2 separate regions of the Homo sapiens genome follow, and region 2 is linked to region 1. Evidence: promoter capture Hi-C in human tissues and cell types (Jung and others, 2019). All regions are on one chromosome and are shown on one strand. The core of a region is centred on a gene start or on the middle of the fragment in contact, and the rest is flanking DNA. Distances in the headings are between cores, read along the strand shown. Region 1 holds the start of CALU (calumenin). Region 2 overlaps AHCYL2 (adenosylhomocysteinase like 2).

Region 1 (4,301 bases), core at 128-2,627:
GGCATACTCAATACATTTTTGTGAGCTCATGGCTTTCCTACTTGTGATTCTCAAAAGAATCCTATTGGAACCCCCCCACCCCCCAATCACAGTAAAACCTCAGATTAGGTCTTGGCAAACTCATTTTCTTGACAAATACAACTTAGAGGTTATATCTGGTCCCTCATTTGGATTATACTATATAAATTCTTCAGTGATTACTGTCGTTTGGTATTTGGTTAATTAAATCTACTGAGTGAGGTCAAACTTGCATTTGTCTTGTGTCAAGTTCCATTCTATGGCAGACTAATTTAACAGAGATTCCAAGGTTCTCTGCCTCCAAGCTGAATAAGCTACTAGAACAAAAAACAACTAGAAGCCACCTTATTCCCAATTCATTAACGTTGACTTCATGGTCCACACCAGAAAATGAACGCAACTCAATTCTCGAAGACACTATTCTAGAATTTTATACACTTAGGAATTCAGATCACAGGCTCAAAAGTTTTAGCAGGAGACCCACGGAGCTTGGGCCTTGATGCAAAAGCAGCTTTTGAAACTGCAAGCCACTCTACGCTTAATCGCGGCAGCTATAGGGAATTAAGTTTATTTCTGACCGCAGCATGCTAAAAATCAGTAGGATATGGGGCTAGAAGCAACAAAAAACGTAACAAAAATTAATTCCCCAATAAAGCTTTAAAAACTATTTTCCGTCGCTAACTGAAGTACGTAGCCAAATATGGAAGCTCTAAACATTCAGCTTTTCTTTAAAATCATAGATATCACCTAGTGTCGTCACTCGTTCTCTCCCCCCTTGTTTCTGCACCCTTTAGGTGAGTGAACACGACCTTGGCAGATGCACCCTACTGTCGGGATGTGGCCTTGGGGCGGAGCTGGCAGATACAAGCAGGATGGTGAGTGGAGGCGGCAAGGAACTCTTACAATAACACTATCCAAATGCCCTCCGACCTTCCGGAGGCAAAAAATGACCCTCTGGTGCCAGAGACTCGGTGAGTGGCGTGACCTAGAGATGGAGGACCAGGACGCAGCAAACCAGGCACAGAACAGTACCCAACGGGACAGAGTTCCACCGGACCAGCCCCCTTCCCAGAGCGCGCGGTAAGACGGGCGGCGGCCTCCATCCCAGGCTGCACACAGAGGGTCCCGGGATCTCCAGCAGCATCAGGCCTGGGACCCGGGCGCCAGCAGAGACAGCGGCACCGAGTGAGGCAGTCCCCTGCCGCGCCAAGAACAAGACCGGGGACAGAAAGAAAGCGAATAAAGATGAGGCAGTGGTGAAGGGGCTGGGCATCACCGTACTTACCTTTCCTCGTAGCCCCCACAGCACAGGATGCCGTGGCCGCCGCTCACCCACCGGCTCAGCTCACGCGCGCAAGCACCGCCCAACCGGAAGCGGGTCCGCACCCCGCCCTCATCCGCCTCGCCGGCGGCCTCCCGACCAATCATCAGCAAACCCGCCGCTGTCGCATAGCGTCCCCGAGTAGCCATTGGTCTAACAATCGCATAGCCGGGATTGGCTGGAAAGCGCCACGTCCCCGGGACCGCGCCGAGTTGCGTGGAGCGGATTCCCGCCCAACTCTCGTCCCCGGGATTGTTGGGACGGCGGGCTCCAGCCCCAGCCCCAGCCCCAGCCCCGTACTGCGGGTGGCGTGGGCGCGGCCGTGTGGCCGCCACGTCCCCATTCACAGCTCATGACTCTGCTTCCACAGGGCTTCTTAGACTATCCTGCTAGTTATCTTCATTCCCACAAGACCACCAGGGCGGAATTAATCCGACTGAATCAGTCACCAACTTTATTGAACAATCCCAACTTTTTCTTTCCCTTCAGCGCTGCGCCCTGCGCTATCTACAGGAGGCTCTTCAGTCTTTGGCACCAGTGTATCTTTTAGCTCCATCTCCCAACACTCCCCCTCATCTTGCGCTCTGGGCACCATCATCTGTTTCCTAACAACCGGTCCTTTTTCATCTCTTAAGATTTTTGATCAAGAGGCTTCCTCTGCCAGGAATAAGTGCGTTTTCCTGATTTTCTGCCTTGCCAATAGAAGTCCCAGTTCAGATGTTAGCTCTAGAAGCCTTCCCTGACCTCACTAAGCATAATTCTTACCTTATTTACCATCATAGCTGTTTATAGCTTCAGTACACTTTGCCAAATTCTGCTATAAAATGTAGCTTATCCATCTGTCCTCTTCTAGAGTAAGCTCCTGGGTAGGTATCTGTCTATTCATCTTTATATCTGCAACTCTGAGCTTACTGCCCAGCTCAGTAATGTTAAGTGAAGGGAATGGGCCGAACCCGTTGCATGTCCCTGAAAATTTAATTTCATGTCATGAAATTAAAACAAATATCAAATAAAGGCTACTATAGCTTCAACACAAATGGAATGTAAACCTGTGGCATTCTTAGCACATAAAGCCTCTGTAGTTTAAAATCAAATTGAGACAAGTTGTAAACTCATGAAACAGTTAAGCTCATGAAAGCAAGCTAGTTACTGTCAACGTGAAAGGTTTACAACTAATCCTTCTGGCATTCAAAGGAGTGTCAGTGACCCTTGGTGGTAGTCAGGGAAGGCTTCAGAGGAAGATATGACTAAGGCTGGACTAAGGAAGTCCCAAATGGACTATTCAGCAAGAAGAGTAATAGGAATAAGGACAAGTGGAGGGCAGAGTGGGAGGTAAATTCTCAGGCCAGGTAGCAAATGAGGAAGGTTAAAAAAAGGGGTGGGGGGAAACAATGAAAGAAAAGCATGGATAGTAAGTTTGGAGAGGTAATGGAAGATCTTGTCAATTTGAGGAACCTGAACTGAAGACAGTGGGAACTGTGGGTCTTCCTGGGAAAGTTTCTAAGCTTGTGCCTACAGGGAAGCCATCTAATGGGTATTAACAATAAAACAGGCTACCTCAGGAGGCATTATTTCGAAAACAGTTTTTAAAATACCTCCTTAAGGATCACTTGAGGCCAGGAGTTTGAGACCAGCCTGGGCAAAATAACGAGACCCTTCCTCCCCCTATCTCTACAAAAAAACAAAAACTAAAAATTAGCTGGGTGTGGTGGCACACACATGTAGTTCAAGCTAGTTGCTTGAGCCCAGGAGGTTGAGGCTGCAATGAACTATGACTGTACCACTTCACTCCAGCCTGGGCAACAGAGCAAGACCCTTTCTCTTAAAAAATAAAAATAACAACTCCTTAAGGTCAGGCACTGTGTTATGTGCTGGTGAACCCAAAGTAAACAGGACATCGTCCCTGTCCTCAAGGAACTCAGCTTAATGGTGCGCCATCCATCCTGGAATTGTCCTAGTAAAGGCTAAACAGGTAGTGAGGGTGCCAGAGATAGGGCCCTCCAACCCTGAGGTTCCCTAATGGAGAAGGGCCTGGCCTAGCAAGGGAAAGGGAAATGGAAATGAACCTTTATATACAAGAGTTTTTTTGTTTGTTTGTTTTGTTTTGTTTTTCTTTTTTTTTGAGATGGAGTTTTGCTTTTGTCGCCCAGGCTGTAGTGCAATGGTGCGACCTTGGCTCACTGCACCTCCGCCTCCTAGGTTCAAGTGATTCTCCTGCCTCAGCCTCCCAAGTAACTGGGATTACAGGCATGTGCCACCACGCCTGGCTAATTTTTGTATTTTTAGTAGAGACAAGGTTTCACCATGTTGGTCAGGCCAATGTCGAACTCCTGACCTCTAGTGATCCGCCTGCCTCGGCCTCCCAAAGTGCTGGGATTACAGGCATGAGCCACGGTGCCCAGCCACAAGAGAGATTTTAAAAGTGGAAATAAGTCCTGAGCTTAGTGACCACTCGAATGAAAGAAATGAAGAAGGAGCACTCAAAAGTTAAAAGGTTTAATCATGGGAGACTAGGAGAATGAGCTAGGTGCATGGAATGAGGGAAGTCAATTGAGTTCAAGACATAGGAAGTCTATGTGATGGCGGAATAGCCAAAGAGAAAGAGCCAAGAGCCTGGAGGAGATATTTGGGAGGGGTTGTTGGCTAGCAGATGGCTGATGGAGCCATGAGAACAGATAAACTTTTTGAGGAGACGAAAGCAGATTAGGCCTCATGGGAGCCCCAGAGTTAGAAAGTAGGTGGAGGAAGGAAGAAAAGGACCTGAGGGACAACACATATTAGAAATGCCGCCAATAGCTGCACCCGAGGCCATCGAGTGAGAGCAGCACTGAAGGACTGCTTGGGGCCGGCATGATGGTGTCACCATAAAAGGCTGACATTCATCTCCAAGCTTCCCATCTCTGCTCATGGGTGCTACTGAACTTTCAATGTTTCCTGTGTGCAGACACTGTTCTAGGAACTG
Region 2 (4,174 bases), core at 705-3,204, 560 kb before region 1:
AAAACCAGGAAGAATGAATAAGATCTGGTATCTGATAGCACAACAGGGTAACTATAGTCAATAATAATTTAATTGTACATTTTAAAATAACTAAAAGAGTATAATAGGATTGTAATATGATAAATGGTTGAGTTGATAGATACCCTCATTTACCTTGATGTAATTATTGCGCAACATATGCCTGTATCAAATATTCCATAAACTCCATAAATATATGCACCTACTATGTACCCACGAAAATTAAAAATTTTAAATAAATAAAAAAATTTTTCAAGTTTTCTCCTGTATGTATAAAATTTCCAGGCTGGTCTCAAAAATTTTAAAAAGAGTCTTCTCCTTTAAAAAATTATTTCAGTGTTTTGAACTTAAATTATCTAAACCGTGGGTATATAATCAAACCACAACAGGTCATGATCCTACATGTGTGGGTAAAGAATCATCTTCCACATATACAAAGTTCTGTACTTCTATGCCATGTGGTTGGTGATGAGATGGAACAGGTACAACACCCCTCTGACAAGTTTTCTTTGTTACGGAAGTACTCCTAAAAGTTGGAATCTGGCTGGGCGTGATGGCTCATGCCTGTAATCCCAGCACTTTGGGAGGCCAAGGCGGGTGGATCACGAGGTAAGGAGATCGACACCATCCTAGCTAACATGGTGAAACCCTGTCTCTACTAAAAATACAAAAAATTAGCACGGCGTGGTGGCGGGTGCCTGTAGTCCCACCTACTCGGGAGGCTGAGGCAGGAGAATGGCGTGAACCCGGGAGGCGGAGCTTGCAGTGAGCCGAGATCGCGCCACTGCACTCCAGCCTGGGGGACAGAGCGAGACTCCATCTCAAAAAAAAAAAAAAAAAAAAAAAAAAAAAAAAAAAAAAAAAACAAGTTGGACTCTCCCACCTCAGCCTCCTGAATAGTTGAAACTACAGGTGAGCCACTATGCCCGGATAGTTTTTTGTTTTTTTTTTTTTGGTAGAGGAGGGGACTTGCTATGGTTCCCAGGCTGCTCTCAAACTCCCAGCCTCAAGCGATCTTCCCATGGGATCACAGACATGGACTACCATGCCCCATAGTTTCTACATTTTTAAATGGTTGAAAAATTTCCAGTCTGTCCCTGATTCTCCCCCCAAAAATGTCAAAAAATTTAAAAAAGAACAATATATCATGGCACATGGAAATTGTATCAAATTCAAATTTTTGGTTTCCATTAAGTATTTTTGGAACTCATTCATTTATGTATTGCCTATATACTTTTTTTCGCTACAATAACAGGTTTGAGTAGTTACAACAAAAAACATATAGCCTGCAAAGCCTAAAACACTTACCATCTGAGCCTTTACAGAAAAAGCTTGCCTACCTTTAGACCAAGAAAAGTTTTATTTTATTGTATAATTCAGTAATGATTGTGATAATTATTTCCAAACAGGCAAAAGAGGTGAAACTAACAGCAATTTGGAAAATAATGACCTTAATTATAAATAACAAAGCTTAAACAGTTTAATATAATACATAAAATAGACAAATCACTTGGTAGAATGACAAATATCAAACAAACACTGCAAATGTGCTGCTTTGGTTTGGTTCTTGTAAGGCCTTACGTTGCTTCTTTTCCATTATCCCCCAAGCAAAGTTTAGGAAAAAACTCCAAAATCCTTCTGGGAATTTTAGGAAAAGCTACATAGAGGTATTTTAGTCACTACAACCCTGCCTAAGTACTTTCCATAGCTGTTATATGTTTCAAGAAAACAAAACAAAAAACCAGGTGTCCTCATGAAATGCCAAGTGAATTGCGGCCAGCAGGTGGAGACAGTTTCTAATCAAAGCAGAGAAGCAAAATTTGATACCAGTTGTAACGGAAATTTAAACTATCTTCATATCCTTACCTTGAAATATTTAGTTAACTAGATAAGACAAAGTGATTTTCTCCTTCCCTTGTTCAACAATAAAACCAGGCTACCTTGTATTTCCTAAATCAGATTTCACTAAGGAATCAGAAATAGGCTGGCTGGTGAATACCCCACTCCCTATATAATATGAACCTAATTTATAAGTTTTTCCTCTCTTGCCATTAGAAAAGGAATATTTTCTGATCGTTTTCTCTCAATGAGGTTAGAGTCTTTCCTATCAAATTAAACCACAGGCTTTCTTGTCTATAGTTACCCTCTAGCTATCTGATTATATAAACTGGGAATGACTATTTCAGCAGGTAATGATTTGTTTATTTGGAGACAGGATCTCGCTGTCACCCAAGCTGGAATGCAGGGGCAGGATCATGGCTCACTGCAGCCTCAACCTCCCCAGCTCAAGCAATCCTCCCACCTAAGACTCCTGAGTAGCTGACACTATTAGTGGATTAGTCCACCACCATGTCGGGCTAATTTTTAATTTTTTTTAGAGACTGGCTCTCCCTATGTTGTCCAGGCTGGTCTCAAACTCCCAGGTTCAAAGGATCTTCCCATGCCTTGGCCTCCCAAAGTGCTGGGATTACAAGCATGAGCCACTGCATCCAGCCAGGTAATGATTTTGATTACAGCTCTCAATTACCCTATCAAACACCATATACTTTCACTCATTAAAAAAAAATTCTTCTCAAAAATTTTTCTCATTTTATAAACAAGAAAAAAGTTACTTTTCCATACTACAAATGACAGGAATAGAATGGTGGTTCCAACTTCGGGACCCGTAGTCCAGAGCTACGTAGAAATTTCTAGCAGTCTATAGGAGGAAGGAGACCAATTAGGTCTCAAGCAAAGGCATTCTAAATTTCCTATCTCAACATGTGACACTTCTGCTCCCCAAGCACCAGTGCTCTGGAGCTGTTCGCTAGTTTTCCAAAGCTCCCAACAGTCGCTTCTCCCTTGGGGCCTGTCTACCCTATGCTTTTTCAGTACCTTTAATTTCAGCAGTATGCACAACTCAGCCCGGTCCTAAGATGAAGTTTACTTCAAAGCAAAGCATACTAGAGTGCAAAGGACTCACAGGCAACCACTGACACCATCATTAACCAGGGGACATAGCACTACAAAAAATTTGTAATTGGAATAAACAGTGATGTTTTCAGAAATTCCTCCTCTTTGGAGCAGCCACCTCTCTACAATCCTTTTACCTTTCACATCCCCAATCACCCTACTTAAAGTCACACAATGTGCCAAGGCTACAATAGATCAGTGTGCATGTGTACACACAGTCTTCACAAGTTGGCTACCCACTTCAGAAAGGTTGACATATATTAAATCTCAAAAAGAATATAAACTTTAAGCTTCCGAAAACTCTAACTCACCAAGCAAGGGTAAGGACTCCAACTGAGCCAATTTAGTTTAATTCTCCTTTATAAGGCTATTTTCAGAAACCATTTGAGTATTGTTTTAAACTACCTAGTATCAGAATGTCCTGAAATTTTTACTTAATTTACCTTCCAGATTATGTGAAAAATAGGTATAAGCATCCTAACCTTTCCATTTTAATAAACCAGGCATTTACTCTCTATCAACTGCATGGACCATTCTAGGAAGCCAAAATTTCTTATTTATTTTTATTTTTTAGAGACAGGGTCTCACTCTGTCAACCAGGATAGAGTACAGTGACATGATCATAGCTCACTGTAGCCTTGAACTCCTGGGCTGAAGGGATCCTCCTACGTCAGCCTCCCAAGTAGCTGGACTACAGGCATGTGTTACATGCCCAACTAATTTTTTAATTTTTTTAAGTAGAGATGGGGTCTCAGTATGTTGCCCAGGCTGGTCTTGAACCCCTCAGCTTGAGTGATCCTCCCACCTCAGTCTCCCAAAGTGCTGCGATTATAGGCGTGAGCCACCATACCTGGCCCCAAAATATTTAAATCCAATGAATGCCAACATAACACCAGAAAATAATTTTGTCTTTCTTCCCCTGATGTTTGTGATTCTTTGGGAAAGTACTTAATTGGAAGAAAAGTCTGTGGTTGATGGAATATTAAGGTGTACAGAGGTTACTCACTGGCTCCCTTTATGCAACCTCTCTTCTACTCTTCCTATTATTTCCTTGATTTTTTACTTCCATCTAAATGTGTTTTCTCCTAAATATAGTGATAAGAATTTTAAGTAACTATCATAGGGGTAATCCTACATGATTCCTCCAAAATGAGACTCATCTAATCACACTTCTAAAGTCTCCAATGAGTTGGAATAACACATA

Evidence for each region. Contacts are between HindIII fragments. The study calls those that stand out against the background at their distance.
Region 2: a contact is called between a fragment that was not itself captured here and the fragment with the promoter of CALU in region 1, in 1 of the 25 tissues and cell types used here (hippocampus).

What each region holds. Positions count from the first base shown.
Region 1 is chr7:128,736,435-128,740,735 of GRCh38, reverse strand. CALU (calumenin) reads right to left here and starts at 1,377. Exons shown (of 7, transcript NM_001219.5): 1 at 1,304-1,377. RefSeq lists an enhancer at 1,041-1,140 and silencers at 1,421-1,560, 1,631-1,770. The HindIII fragment of the contact is 3,801 bases long and covers 1-3,537 here.
Region 2 is chr7:129,296,079-129,300,252 of GRCh38, reverse strand. The region is part of intron 1 of AHCYL2 (adenosylhomocysteinase like 2); the gene reads right to left. Among named protein-coding and RNA genes, the nearest start is that of AHCYL2, 73 kb to the right of the region's middle. The HindIII fragment of the contact is 3,657 bases long and covers 126-3,782 here.